Regions from separate parts of the Homo sapiens genome. Here regions 2, 3 and 4 are each linked to region 1. Evidence: promoter capture Hi-C in 16 types of primary human blood cells and fetal thymus (Javierre and others, 2016). All regions are on one chromosome and are shown on one strand. Each heading gives the region's core, a stretch centred on a gene start or on the middle of the fragment in contact. The rest is flanking DNA. Distances are from core to core; before and after follow the strand shown.

Region 1 (3,014 bases), core at 386-2,885:
AGCTCTTGAAATGACAACAGAACCAGAAAATCATTTTGAGCCACTGAGCAATTGGTACCTTGCACTTCAAGTGACATATTTAGACAAGTGGACCTCATGGACTGGAGATTTGTTTCTGTCCTGTTCTGGATTTCAGCAGTTTAATTTGCAATTCAAATGATATTAATAACCAGTGATACTGTTTCTTAAAGGGCAATTAGGCAAAAAGAAAAAAAAAATCCCCCAAAGCCTGCTTACCCTTTTACTTTCTAAGTCACAGAAACCAAACAGTACATTTTAGGGAATGCCCCATCCGCCTTTATGTCTTGCAGGGGGTTTCAGAGCTTAATCTCTGTCAATGTGAACACAAACCAACTGTCTTTTTCTTCCTCTTCTCTAAACCGCAGAGTCCCTTCAAACGGGCTCCCTGCAGCCCACCACCCTAAGCCTTCATTTCTCTACCGCTCAACCTTTGAGGTCTACAGTATCCCCCTGGAAAGTGCTCTCGGTGTTTATATTTGCGGAAATTTAAACTCCCTGCTGAGCTGAGCATCTACTGTTGCATCTATAGATTCCAATGCCTGAGAGACCTCAAATGAGAAGAAAATAAAGTCCAGATGCAACTGAGCCAAGGGATTTGGCATCCGCGGAGAAAAGTGCACAGCAGTGCAATCCTCTATCCCAACCACGGCGGCAGAGCCCGGAGCTCTCTCTGGGAAGGAGCCTAAGGAAGTGGGGGGAACTGTGCCATTCACCCCTGCGGGGGGTGGGGAAAAGGCCCCGGCATGAAAAGTTTGCACGGAGCTAGGGGGCTGGTGCCACGGAAAGGGCACTTTCTGATGCCGGAAGGGACCCGCCGGCTGCGCCTCGCTCAGGCTGGCCGGGGCCGGTGTGACCGTGTGACCCCGTGCACACTGCGCTCGGGTTTTCGTGAATGACAGCAGCCTGCAACTCCCAGCCGGAGAGCAGCGGTGGCCACCGCCGGGCGGAAAGGGTTACAAGCCAGAATGCAAAGCGATTTCGCCCCGGGTGTGGGGGACCCCGGGTCCCCGGCCACCTCCGAGGCCGGGCGTGCTCTGCTCGCCTTCCTCCGCCCTGGGCGCCGGGGCGATCCTACCTTGCGCTCCAAGCTGGGGGTTCTCCATGTTCGTCGCCGCCGAGTCCCCCGCCGCCGAGGCGCTGGCCGCGGCTCCCGGGCCCGGGCCGGGGCCGCCGCCGCCGCTCAGTTCCGCCAGTCTCCGGTTGGTGGCCGTGAGTTCGGCTCGCAGGTTGGTCACCTCCTGGCTGGCCGACTGGACCGCCCCATCGATGCGGAGCGCGAGCTGCTTATTGTCTTCCATCATGCTCAGGATTTTGGCCTGGGGGCGAGAGAGGTGACAAAGAGCTGCATGATGCGCGGGGGGCGCGCGGCCGGGCACCCCCGGCTCTACCTGTTGTGTCCTCCGCGGCCCGGCTTCGCCCGCGCCCCGACCCCCAGGCACCGGCAGCGCCGGTTCCTCCGGCACAGGAATGACAGCGGCGCCTCCAGCCCTAGCCGCGGCGGTGGCGAGGCGGCGGGGGGAGGAGGCGGAGGAGAAAAAAGAGGAGGAGAAGGAGGAGGAGGAGCAGCGATCGCCGAGACCCCGGCGGGCGGGCGCCGAGAGCTGCTCCAAGAAGGACACCGCGCGCCACCAGGCACTCTTTAAATGGAGCCTACCATTCGCCGCCGGCTCGGGAGGGGGTCTCGGTCGGAGGCTGGGGGCACCCTTGGCCTCCCGCGCCCCCGTACTTCGGAGACACACCCCCCGGGGGGGCGGAGGCGGCGGACGGCAGTCGGGAGGGGGCCAAGGTGGCGCCCCTGGCGAGGGGCAGGGGTCGCCTGGACCGAGGCCGGCCCTCTGTCCCCTCCCTTGAGCGGTGGGGCAGCCCCCGCCCTGGAGAACTGGTGCCCCGAGCCGTGCTAAGGTTGGGGAGGTGCTGGGTGCTCGGAAGAGAGGGTGCTTGGAAAGGGGGCCTCAGAGGGGAGCCGGGGTGGATCTCCATGGAAGGGAGACGCTTGCGCCAGCTCAGGAGTGGAGTTCGTGCTCCACCGGTTCCTTAAACTGCGAGTACGAAATCCCCAGAGGGGAGCTGAGCTGGTGCCCCGCGTGCCTCTCACTCTCCACCCCCCACCCGCAGGCCAGACCTGCGCTGCCCACCCCAGGAGGGAGCGCCTATCTTCCTCGGCGTGGGCCGCTGGTGCTCCCGCCTCTCCACAGCCCTAGCCCTGTGTGTGCATCCAGGTGGAGGAGCAGCCTTAGCCAGCTCCTAAGCTTCTTAGCCGGGCTGAATATTGGCGGGGACAGAGATGAGGTTGAGAGATAAGAAGGAAGGCGTCGATGGGGCTTCTTCCCTTTCTTCTACTGGGAGCAGAAGAGTTGAGCCCTGCTGCCTCAGTTTACCCATCCCCTCTTCACAGAAGAACTGAGGTAACCTGACGTTGATATGCCCTCTCCAGCTCCTCTTTCTCTCCCAGACCACAGGCTTTGCATTTTTCACTGGGGCCCTGGATTCCAGCCACCAGACCTTGTTACCATAGCAAACTTCATTCCATGCAAATAGGACAATTTAAAACAGCCAGCAACCCTCTGGTCAACAGGGCGCCATCATTCCAGCTCAGTCAACCTCCGGAGAGCAGCAAAGAGCAGATTGCAGAAGCCAGTGGGGTGCTGCGAGGAAAAATGAGGCTGCCCACCCTTCAGGTTCTTACAGGAAGCCCATAAGAACCAAGCAAAAACTGCGTGTAGAGTGCTTTTATATGCATTCTTATCTCTTGTGAGTGAGGATTATTATTCCCATTTTAGGGATAAGGAAACTGAGGCTCTGCATAGGGTTAAGCAATTTACTTAAGGGGCCCGCAGAAACCAGGTGACAGCGGGACTGGAAGAAAGTAATCATCTGATTGCAAGTTCCTCCTGCTGCGCCTTCAGGAGGCCTTGGATGATAGATTTCTCCCCCCTTTTCTGTGGAACCATAAAAACAGTCTTGCTCCATTCCCCTGTGACCACTAACAAGCT
Region 2 (2,700 bases), core at 200-2,699, 470 kb before region 1:
TAGGTTCTCTTGTATTGGTGCGATTAACAGCTACTTACTGGTAACCATTAAGAAAGCAACAAGGAATTTTCAAAACCTAAAACTCAGAAATGCAAACAAGCTACCAGCCAGTGTTTTCTGTGATCCAGAAGCATGGTTTCTGTACACAGCCTGGCAACGTCACAAGGCCTTGCAAGGCACGTGCTAGGTCATCAGAGGTCCTGCCATTTTCAGGATGAATAGGCCAAGATTTCCCCTTGCTGCTATTCTTGGATCAATCCTGTTGGGATCATTTTCTCAAGGATTCAGTTTGTTGCCCTATAGAGTACCGTGCTGCATATTTGCATATTTTCCAGCCACGGGACTTTGAGACATCATCCAATTGTGGTTCAGGTATGAAATATCCATACCCAGGCTGGGTGCGGTGGCTCACACTTGTAATTCCAGCACTTTGGGAGGCCAAGGTGGGTGGATCACCTGAGGTCAGGCGTTCAAAATCAGCCTGGCCAACATGGCAAACTCCCGTCTCTACTAAAAACAACACAAAAAGTAGCCGGGTGTGGTGATGCATGCTTGTAGTCCCAGCTACTAGGGAGGCTGAGGTGGGAGAATCGCTTGAACCCAGGAGGCAAAGGTTGCAGTGAGCCGAGATCGCGCCACTGCACTCCAGCCTGGGCGACAGAGTGAGACTCTGCCTCAAAAAAGAAAAAAAAAGAAAAATAAAAAGAGAAATATCCATATCCTATTTGCCATCCCAGACTTATACCCTCAATTTGCCCACAGGGGGACATTTTAGTGACATGCCATAACTTTGATATTTAAATAACTTCTAACATACGAACTGCTAAGATATTTGTAAGTTTGGGGGCATTATTTTGTAATGCAGAATTACGAATATACTCTTTTATAAAGAATAAGCTGATACATGTTCCCTATTCATTCTTCATTATCACCAGGTTCTGTAACCACTGGAAAATGGGAACAGGTGGGGGCCAGGGACCGGGGCATATTTTGCCCCGCCCAGTGGAGTCCAACTGGAAAAAGCCTAGGAGCCATCTGGGGTGTCTGGGAAAATGCAAGTTTTTGGGGAAAACCCAGAGATATTTTATTTATTCATTTATAAATAATAGACAGGGTCTCACTCTGTCGCCCAGGCTGGAGTGCAGTGGCTCGATCTCGGCTCATTGCAGCCTCGACATCCCGAGCTCAAGAGATGCTTCAGCCTCAGCCTCCTGAGTAGCTGGGACTACAGGCGTGTGCCACCACACTTGGCTAACTTTTGGCCCAGAGGTATTTTAAAAATCATTTTGTCAAACGACTGATGTCCCCCACGGTTCAGGCTCACTCTGCCTGGATTCCCCAGGAGCCCAGGTTGAGTGACGGGCACGATACCGTTTGTCACAGGTGCGGGGCGGCTCCTGGACCGCAGGCTCATGCTGTGGCGGGGAAGGGTGCCACAGAGCTCCCCAGGTGTTGGGGGCTGCACTACCCCTCAGGATCTGCAGCTCTGGTACAGCCAGGGGTTGGACTGCAGGGCCAGTGGAGGTGATTCTGCTCCTGACTTAGCCAGGAAGAGGAAGGGAGAGCTGGTGCTGGACAGCAGCCGGTTTCTGCTCTGATTCCCCCGCTGATTCCTCTCTAGGGGTGAGCTTTCTGGGCCTGCGGGGAAAAGGCTGATGGAAACAGACTGAGTCACAAAAGTGAGGCAGTGCAAAGCTGTGTCAGAGGCTACTGGTGGGCAAGGGGCCTTGAAACCAGGCCCAGATGATGCACTGAAGATGCCCCCCTGGGAGAAGGCCCAGCTGCTTGGCGGCAGCCCCTCACTGCTCAGACGGTGGAGTGGTTCAGGGCACAAACTCTGTAGCCAAAACTCCATAGTTTGAGGCCCACTTCTATTGTCTCCCAGCTCCATGACCTCAGATGAGTTACTCAACGTCTGTTTTCTCATCAATGACAGGCTGTTGGGAGGGTTAACTGAGTTAATATGTGTAAAGTGCATAGCATGGACCCTGGCCTGTGGTAAATGCCTAATCAATGTTAGATATTATTATTATTGTTATTATTGGTTACAGCTGTTTTAGCCTGCAACGTGGGTAGGAGGAGCACACAGACGGGCCACTGAGTACAGTCATGCAGCTTGTGTATTGAAAAACCAGGACACCATTCACGTGGTAGCCTGGAGAATGGCACCTTCTGGAGTAATGCAGTGCCCAACCTGTGCAGCTGGCCCTGGATGCCCTGGGCAGCCCTACTCCAATTTCTAATAGGTACCATTTGAAGTTGGACCATTTGGAGCAAGGTCCTGGAGAAGATTCTTTTTTAAATATTTATTTATTTTTTTGAGACAGAGTCTCGCTCTGTCACCCAGGTTGGAGCGCAGTGGCGCGATCTCGGCTCACTGCAAGCTCCAACTCCCGGGTTCATGCCATTCTCCTGCCTCAGCTTCCCTGGAGAAGATTCTTTTAAAAAAGGAGGTACGGTGGCTTTTGAGTAGAGCTACAAAGACCCAAATAAGGTATGGCCTGGCTCTTGAGAAGGTCCCAGGATGAGAGGCACGATAGCTAGGACGCTGGCCAAGTCATTCCTCTCTGGGCCAAAGTTTTTGCCATATGTCCCGCATGAGAGACGGGGTTAGTTTTGAGAGGGCAAAAAGGCTTTATCCTTGTATGCCAACTCTGATTGACTGGCTGTGGCTATCTGAGGCTATGTAAAGTGAGAAAT
Region 3 (2,700 bases), core at 35-2,534, 490 kb before region 1:
AGGCTTTGGAGTTGAACAGACCTCAGCATCAGGCAGATTCCTTGAAGCCTCCGTTTCTCCATATATAAAATGGGAATAATGAGAATATCTGCCTCGTAGCTTGAAATGAATGTTATAAACTCTGAATGCGAAGCTATGGGGGTGTGAAAGTTGCAGATACCAGGATGAAATCACTTTTGTCAGAACCAGAAGAATTAGAGCCGGGAAATCACGAAGGAGGGGAACTCATGCTTGCATGTTTGAGATAAGGACTGTCTCAAGGACTTTCTAAAATAGCCCCCAAGAAATTCCTTCTTCAGGACTGCAGCAATTCAGGTAAGATGTTCTCCAAAGAACACTGCCCAGTAACGTCATCTCCACCAATGAACTGATGCCAACTCTAGCTTTGAGCCTCTGCAGCCAATGAAGTCTGTTTCCAAGCAGCTTATGTGAACTTCTCTTTTTTTTTTTTTTTTTTTTTTTTTTTTTTGCCAATAAAAGCTTCCCTTTGCTGTCCCCTCTCCAGACGCACCTATGGCTTGCCACAGCTATACTTCCAGAGACTAATCCATTTATGCTTACTCCCAAATACATTCATCATATAGGAGATATTTTTTTCTGATGTCTGTTTTTTCAGGCTGACAGTAGGCACTTAGTCAAGGCTGGCTATTGTTGGCAATAAGGGGCCCCTCTCCTGGGGCTTGGGCACTGTTTGGCCACACCTAGAGTTTAGCTGCAGCCACTTCCTTCCCACTACATTCCTGGCTACAGCTTTGGTGCCTTCAGAGGGAACAAGTCCTCCTGGTTGTCCAGCCTGGCAGGGCAGAAATTCACTGTCCCTGCTGGACTCTTGCCTGGTCAAGGTGGGAGGGGTGGGGCTCTCAGTGAGGTGAGGGTGGATCTGTCCGTTCTGTGCCCAGGTGGGTGGGTGGGGGGTGTCTGCAGCCCTTGGCTATGTCTCCCCAAGAAAGGGAGCTAAAGGAGCATGGGAAGGAGAGAAAGGAGATGGGAGCAGAAGTTGGCTGCTGCTCCTGAGTCCCCCAGAAGAGGGGAAGGTTCAAAGAAGAGGGTTTGGGGAGAGAAAGGGTGTCCAGATGCAATAAAGATGCGAAAGTAAATTGAAAGGAGGAGAGGGAGAGAGGGAGTCGAGGTCAGAGAGGGGATAACAGATACGTGGACAAACAGAAAAGGCAAACGTCTGGTGTGCAATGTGAGCGTGTGTGTGCGTGTGCCTGTGTGTCTTTGTGAGTGTGTGTGGGTTATTTATTTTCTGTAGTGAGCAGGCCTCAGGGCTGTGAGGGGAGCTGGCTTTACAGCTCGCATTATTTATGGAGTCCAGGCCCTAGGAATGCCAGAGGCCAGGCTGGGTTCATGTGCGCAAACCACACATTTTGGTTTCTGCAAGACAGCTATTCACCGCCCCTATTCACCACCGCCTCCTTCTCCCCCACCCCTGAGGACTGAGCACCAACGAGACGACGTGACAGAAGGGCTTGGGAGGAGTCTAGGGGGGCCTTGGGGTCATAAACCATTAATTAAAGGCAGTTTCCAAAATGCAGGCATTATGGGGCCAGATTTTATGTCCGGATTCCATCAATCCTGGCTTTTATTTCCCTCCTTCTCAGTCTTGAGAGAGGGAATAACTCATGTTGATGGCCAGGCTGCTCAGCGGAGGGGCTGCCGAGTCGCGGGTGCTGGCTGAGTCCCTGGTGGAGTCTGAGAAGCTACCACTAAAAGGCAGTCACTCGGGATCCTTCCAGAAACTAGAAAGACTGTGGACTTTGGAACGAGAGGCTGTGCATCCTTCCACCCACCCCAACACATATGCACGCATGCACACCCCCCCACCCACAGAATGTTAGTACTACTGAGTGTGACCATTGACGTCTCCCCTAAATGAGGCCTTACAGAGGCAATTGTGTTGGCCCAGCATAGAGGTCAGCAGACTACGGCCTCCCAGGCCGAATCCAGCCCTCCCTCCTATTTTTCTAAATAAAGTTTTTATTAGATCACAGCCATGCCCATTTGTTTATTTATTGTCTAAAGCTGCTTTCATGCTACAATGGCAGAGTTGAGACGTTGAGACAGGCCCACAAAGCCTAAAGCTTAAAGCCCACAAAGTTTTTTGGCCCGGTGCAAAAGACCACATAGAGAAACGCCTGGCCTAGACGTTCAGAGGCTGGCACTGGAATATGGGAGCCCTGGGTTTGAATCCCAGCTCCGTGGCTTATCAACCAAAAGATCTCACGGAAGCGTTTTACATTTTCTCAACCTCGGTTTTCCCCTCTGTAAAACGGGGATGATAGGAACGCTTAATCTCACAGGATGGTGTGAGGATGAAATGAAATGATGTGTGCAAAGTGTTCAGCCTTGTGTCTGACATAGAGTGGATACTCAGTGACGGAGTGGAGGCCTCTGTCCCCTGCGGGCCCATGTCACTTACTGTCCAGACTGCTCTGTCCAGTACAGCAGCTACAAGCCACATGTGCCTACAGAACATGTAATGTGGCTAGCTCACATTGAGAAGTGCCTTAAGGGCTGGGTGTGGTGGCTCATGCCTGTAATCCCAGCACTTTGGGACACCGAGGTGGGTGGATCACCTGAGGTCAAGACCACCCTGGCCGACATGGTGAAACCCCGTCTCTACTAAAAATACAAAAAAATTAGCTGGGCATGGTGGTGCATGCCTGTAGTCCCAGATACTCGGGAGGCCGAGGCAGG
Region 4 (2,875 bases), core at 294-2,793, 420 kb before region 1:
TACCTGGGTATATGTCTGAAAGGCCTGCATCTGTGCGTTCACCTGCACGAAAAAGTTCACAGCGGCCCTATTTGTAAAAGCTCCAAACTAGAAACTCCCCAGACACCCTTGATCAGGAGAATGGCCGCAGCCACTGTGATCCCTTCACATGGTGGATGGCTTGACCTGGTGAGAATGAATGAACGATGGCCACACGTGACGCAGAAGAGCCACACGGACCGAGTGTCGCGCTTCTGGAGCCAGACACAGATGAGTATATACTGTAAACAGTGCTAAGAAGAGACGATGCAAGAGGGGCAGAATTAATCTCCATGGCTAGAAGTCAGCGACAGGCTACCTTCGGAGGGGGATAGTGGCAAGAAAGGTGCACAGGAGGGCTTCTGGGAAGCGAATGAGGTCCTATTCTTGATCTGGGTGCTGATTACACAGTATATTCAGTTTGTAAAAATTCTCCAAGATATAAACTTGAGATTCATGTATTATGTGAGTATTATGTGATCCTTTAATTAAAAGCTTTTAGAAACAGCATCCACCTCATAGCACTGGTTTTGTATATGCAATGCCCTCGGAACAGTGACTAGTGTGTGGGGAATGCGGTAACCCAGCTTGTATCACCTGGAGGGCTGTGGGTCCCCATGACGTCAGTAGACACCCGCCTGGGGTAGCAGTGAGGCAGGGCAGCTCCAGGTGTGGGCAAGGTAGGCGTTGTTCCCACTGTGAGTCCCCAGGGCCCCTGGGGCTGGGGAAGGAAGATGAGCTGTGGGGTTGGTCCTGGGTTCAAGTCCAGCTCAGTCCTGCACAGGCCACGACAACGCTGTCCGTGTGTTACTGTGGTTAGTTAAGGGGGAGGACATTCATGGAGGTGCCAGGCAGTACTTGGCATGATGAAAGGTGGTGGCTTCCCCAGCACTAATAATGACAACAGCAATGATAACCGATGATAACAATCACCACAGTAACAGCCGTAGTCAGCATTTATTGAGTGATTCCTATGGGGTGGGTATTATTCTACACCTTGCATGTTTTCACTCAAATTTTCCTCAAAGCAATCCTGAGAGGTAATGCCATCATTCTCCCCAGTTTACAAATGAAGAAACTGGCTGGGCTTGGTGGCTCACGCTTGTAATCCCAGCACTTTGGGAGGCCGAGGCAGGTGGATTACTTGAGGTCAGGAGCTCGAGACCAGCCTGGCCAACATGGCGAAACCCTGTCTCTACTAAAAATACAAAAATTAGCTTGGCGTGGTGGCGGGCGCTTGTAATCCCAGATACTAGGGAGGCCGAGGCACAAGAATTGCTTGAACCAGGGGGACACAGGTTGCAGTGAGCTGAGATTGCACCACTGCACTCCAGCCTGGGTGACAGAGCAAGACTCTGTCTCAAAGAAACAAACAAACAACCAAATGAAGAAACTGAGGCAAAGGTAGATTACACTGACCCAGCTGGTAAGAGGCAGAGCCAGGTTCAGGCTGGGTGGGTCTGGTTCTGAGCCCCCTGCTCTTAATCATATCCAGGTAGGCAGTCCCTGGTGTAGCAAGGCTGGGGCAGATGCTGGACCTGGGCATGGAATGGGGGTGCAGTGGGGAGCAGTGGAGCCTGGTGGTCCCACCCTGCAAGGCCTTTCATCACCCTGGAGGCCACAGGCCCCAGTTGTCCCTGGAAGGTGTGGAGGTACATGCCAGGTCCTCTCACAGACCCAGTATGGCTGCTGGGATAAGATGAGTCTCAGTCTGGCTGGGACTCACAGCAGGTCACTAAGGATTCAGGTCCTGCTCAGCCTCCCGCCCGCCATGTGCCTTCAGGACATCCAGCAACTTCTCAGGGCCTCAGTGTTTAACTCTGTGAAATGGGCACAATAACAACCTAGCAACCTCACAGGTGGAAACGATATCTGAAGATGAGCTTTAGAATCCACAGAGATTTCAAAGGTGTGAAGACAGCTGTTAATGGGAGGGGAGGGCAGCTGCTGGGGGGCTGTGGCTGCCCGCCTGTGCCAGTCCAGGTGGGTAAGTCTGTCTACTTCTGGCATTCAGCATCAACCAGACACCGTGGCCCAGGATCCCAGCCATGATCTCAGACCCCCTTTCGGTCACAAAACACTGTGATCTTTGCTTGTCTGACTTCTGTGAGACCCCCACAACTACTTCCTAATTTAGTAGAGGAAGAAAGGAGTGTTTTTTTTTTTTTAAATCAACTCCCTAAAGTCTCTGCAGCAACAATTATTATTTTCAATTTTTGTGATCCTGTCTTTGATTTTTCCCTCTTCCAGGGGACCCCATGACGGCTGCAGACAGAGGCGTGGCAGCAAAAAAAAAATCACAGAGAACAATTTTCTTGTCTTCTCCTGCAACCAGAAAGTGAGAGACCCTGGCCACCACCAACCCCCAGCCAGGGCCCTGGAGCTACCTGATGCCATCCCGTTAATTGGAGGGGTGCGAGAGTTTTATGGCAAGACTGGAAATCTACTGTAATTAAGACCTCTATAAAATATTTAGACCGCCATTCTCAGATATATTAATGATTATACATTTAAATGTTAATGAGTGTAATTAGATGAAAGATTAGCCAAGCTTGTCACTAAATATACATTCAGGACTGATAAACTATCTCATAGTAAAATTATATGTGTGAGCAGACGTACACACTTTAGACTTCTGAGATAGACTTGGATTTGTCTTATTGAAAAAAAGCTGAAAGCGTGGCCCAGAAAAATGGAGGGGGAGAAAAGGGAGTTTGCAGGCTGGGGGGAAGCCAGGGAGATCAGAGGGGAGAACCCTAAAGACTCCATAGGGTTCTTGGAAATGGGAAAGATCAATAAGTTAGTATATGTGAAAATTTGCACACCTCCATGAATGGAGAACTCACTACTCTTAGGA

Evidence for each region. Contacts are between HindIII fragments. The CHiCAGO score rates a contact against its expected background, and 5 or more counts as called.
Region 2: a fragment that was not itself captured here is called in contact with the fragment with the promoter of KAZN in region 1 in 1 of 17 cell types (M0 macrophages); the score reaches 6.2 in M0 macrophages.
Region 3: a fragment that was not itself captured here is called in contact with the fragment with the promoter of KAZN in region 1 in 1 of 17 cell types (M2 macrophages); the score reaches 7.1 in M2 macrophages.
Region 4: a contact is called between a fragment that was not itself captured here and the fragment with the promoter of KAZN in region 1, in 1 of 17 cell types (M0 macrophages). The highest score is 5.8, in M0 macrophages.

What each region holds. Positions count from the first base shown.
Region 1 is chr1:14,597,306-14,600,319 of GRCh38, reverse strand. It overlaps KAZN (kazrin, periplakin interacting protein), which reads right to left and starts at 1,635. Exons shown (of 15, transcript NM_201628.3): 1 at 1,097-1,635. The coding sequence starts at 1,322. RefSeq lists a silencer at 809-968. The HindIII fragment of the contact is 2,542 bases long and covers 1-2,272 here.
Region 2 is chr1:15,069,247-15,071,946 of GRCh38, reverse strand. All of the region lies in intron 8 of KAZN (kazrin, periplakin interacting protein), which reads right to left. Among named protein-coding and RNA genes, the nearest start is that of TMEM51-AS1, 82 kb to the left of the region's middle. The HindIII fragment of the contact is 4,729 bases long and covers 1-2,700 here.
Region 3 is chr1:15,087,502-15,090,201 of GRCh38, reverse strand. All of the region lies in intron 8 of KAZN (kazrin, periplakin interacting protein), which reads right to left. Among named protein-coding and RNA genes, the nearest start is that of TMEM51-AS1, 64 kb to the left of the region's middle. The HindIII fragment of the contact is 1,604 bases long and covers 483-2,086 here.
Region 4 is chr1:15,017,912-15,020,786 of GRCh38, reverse strand. The region is part of intron 2 of KAZN (kazrin, periplakin interacting protein); the gene reads right to left. Among named protein-coding and RNA genes, the nearest start is that of TMEM51-AS1, 130 kb to the left of the region's middle. The HindIII fragment of the contact is 2,056 bases long and covers 516-2,571 here.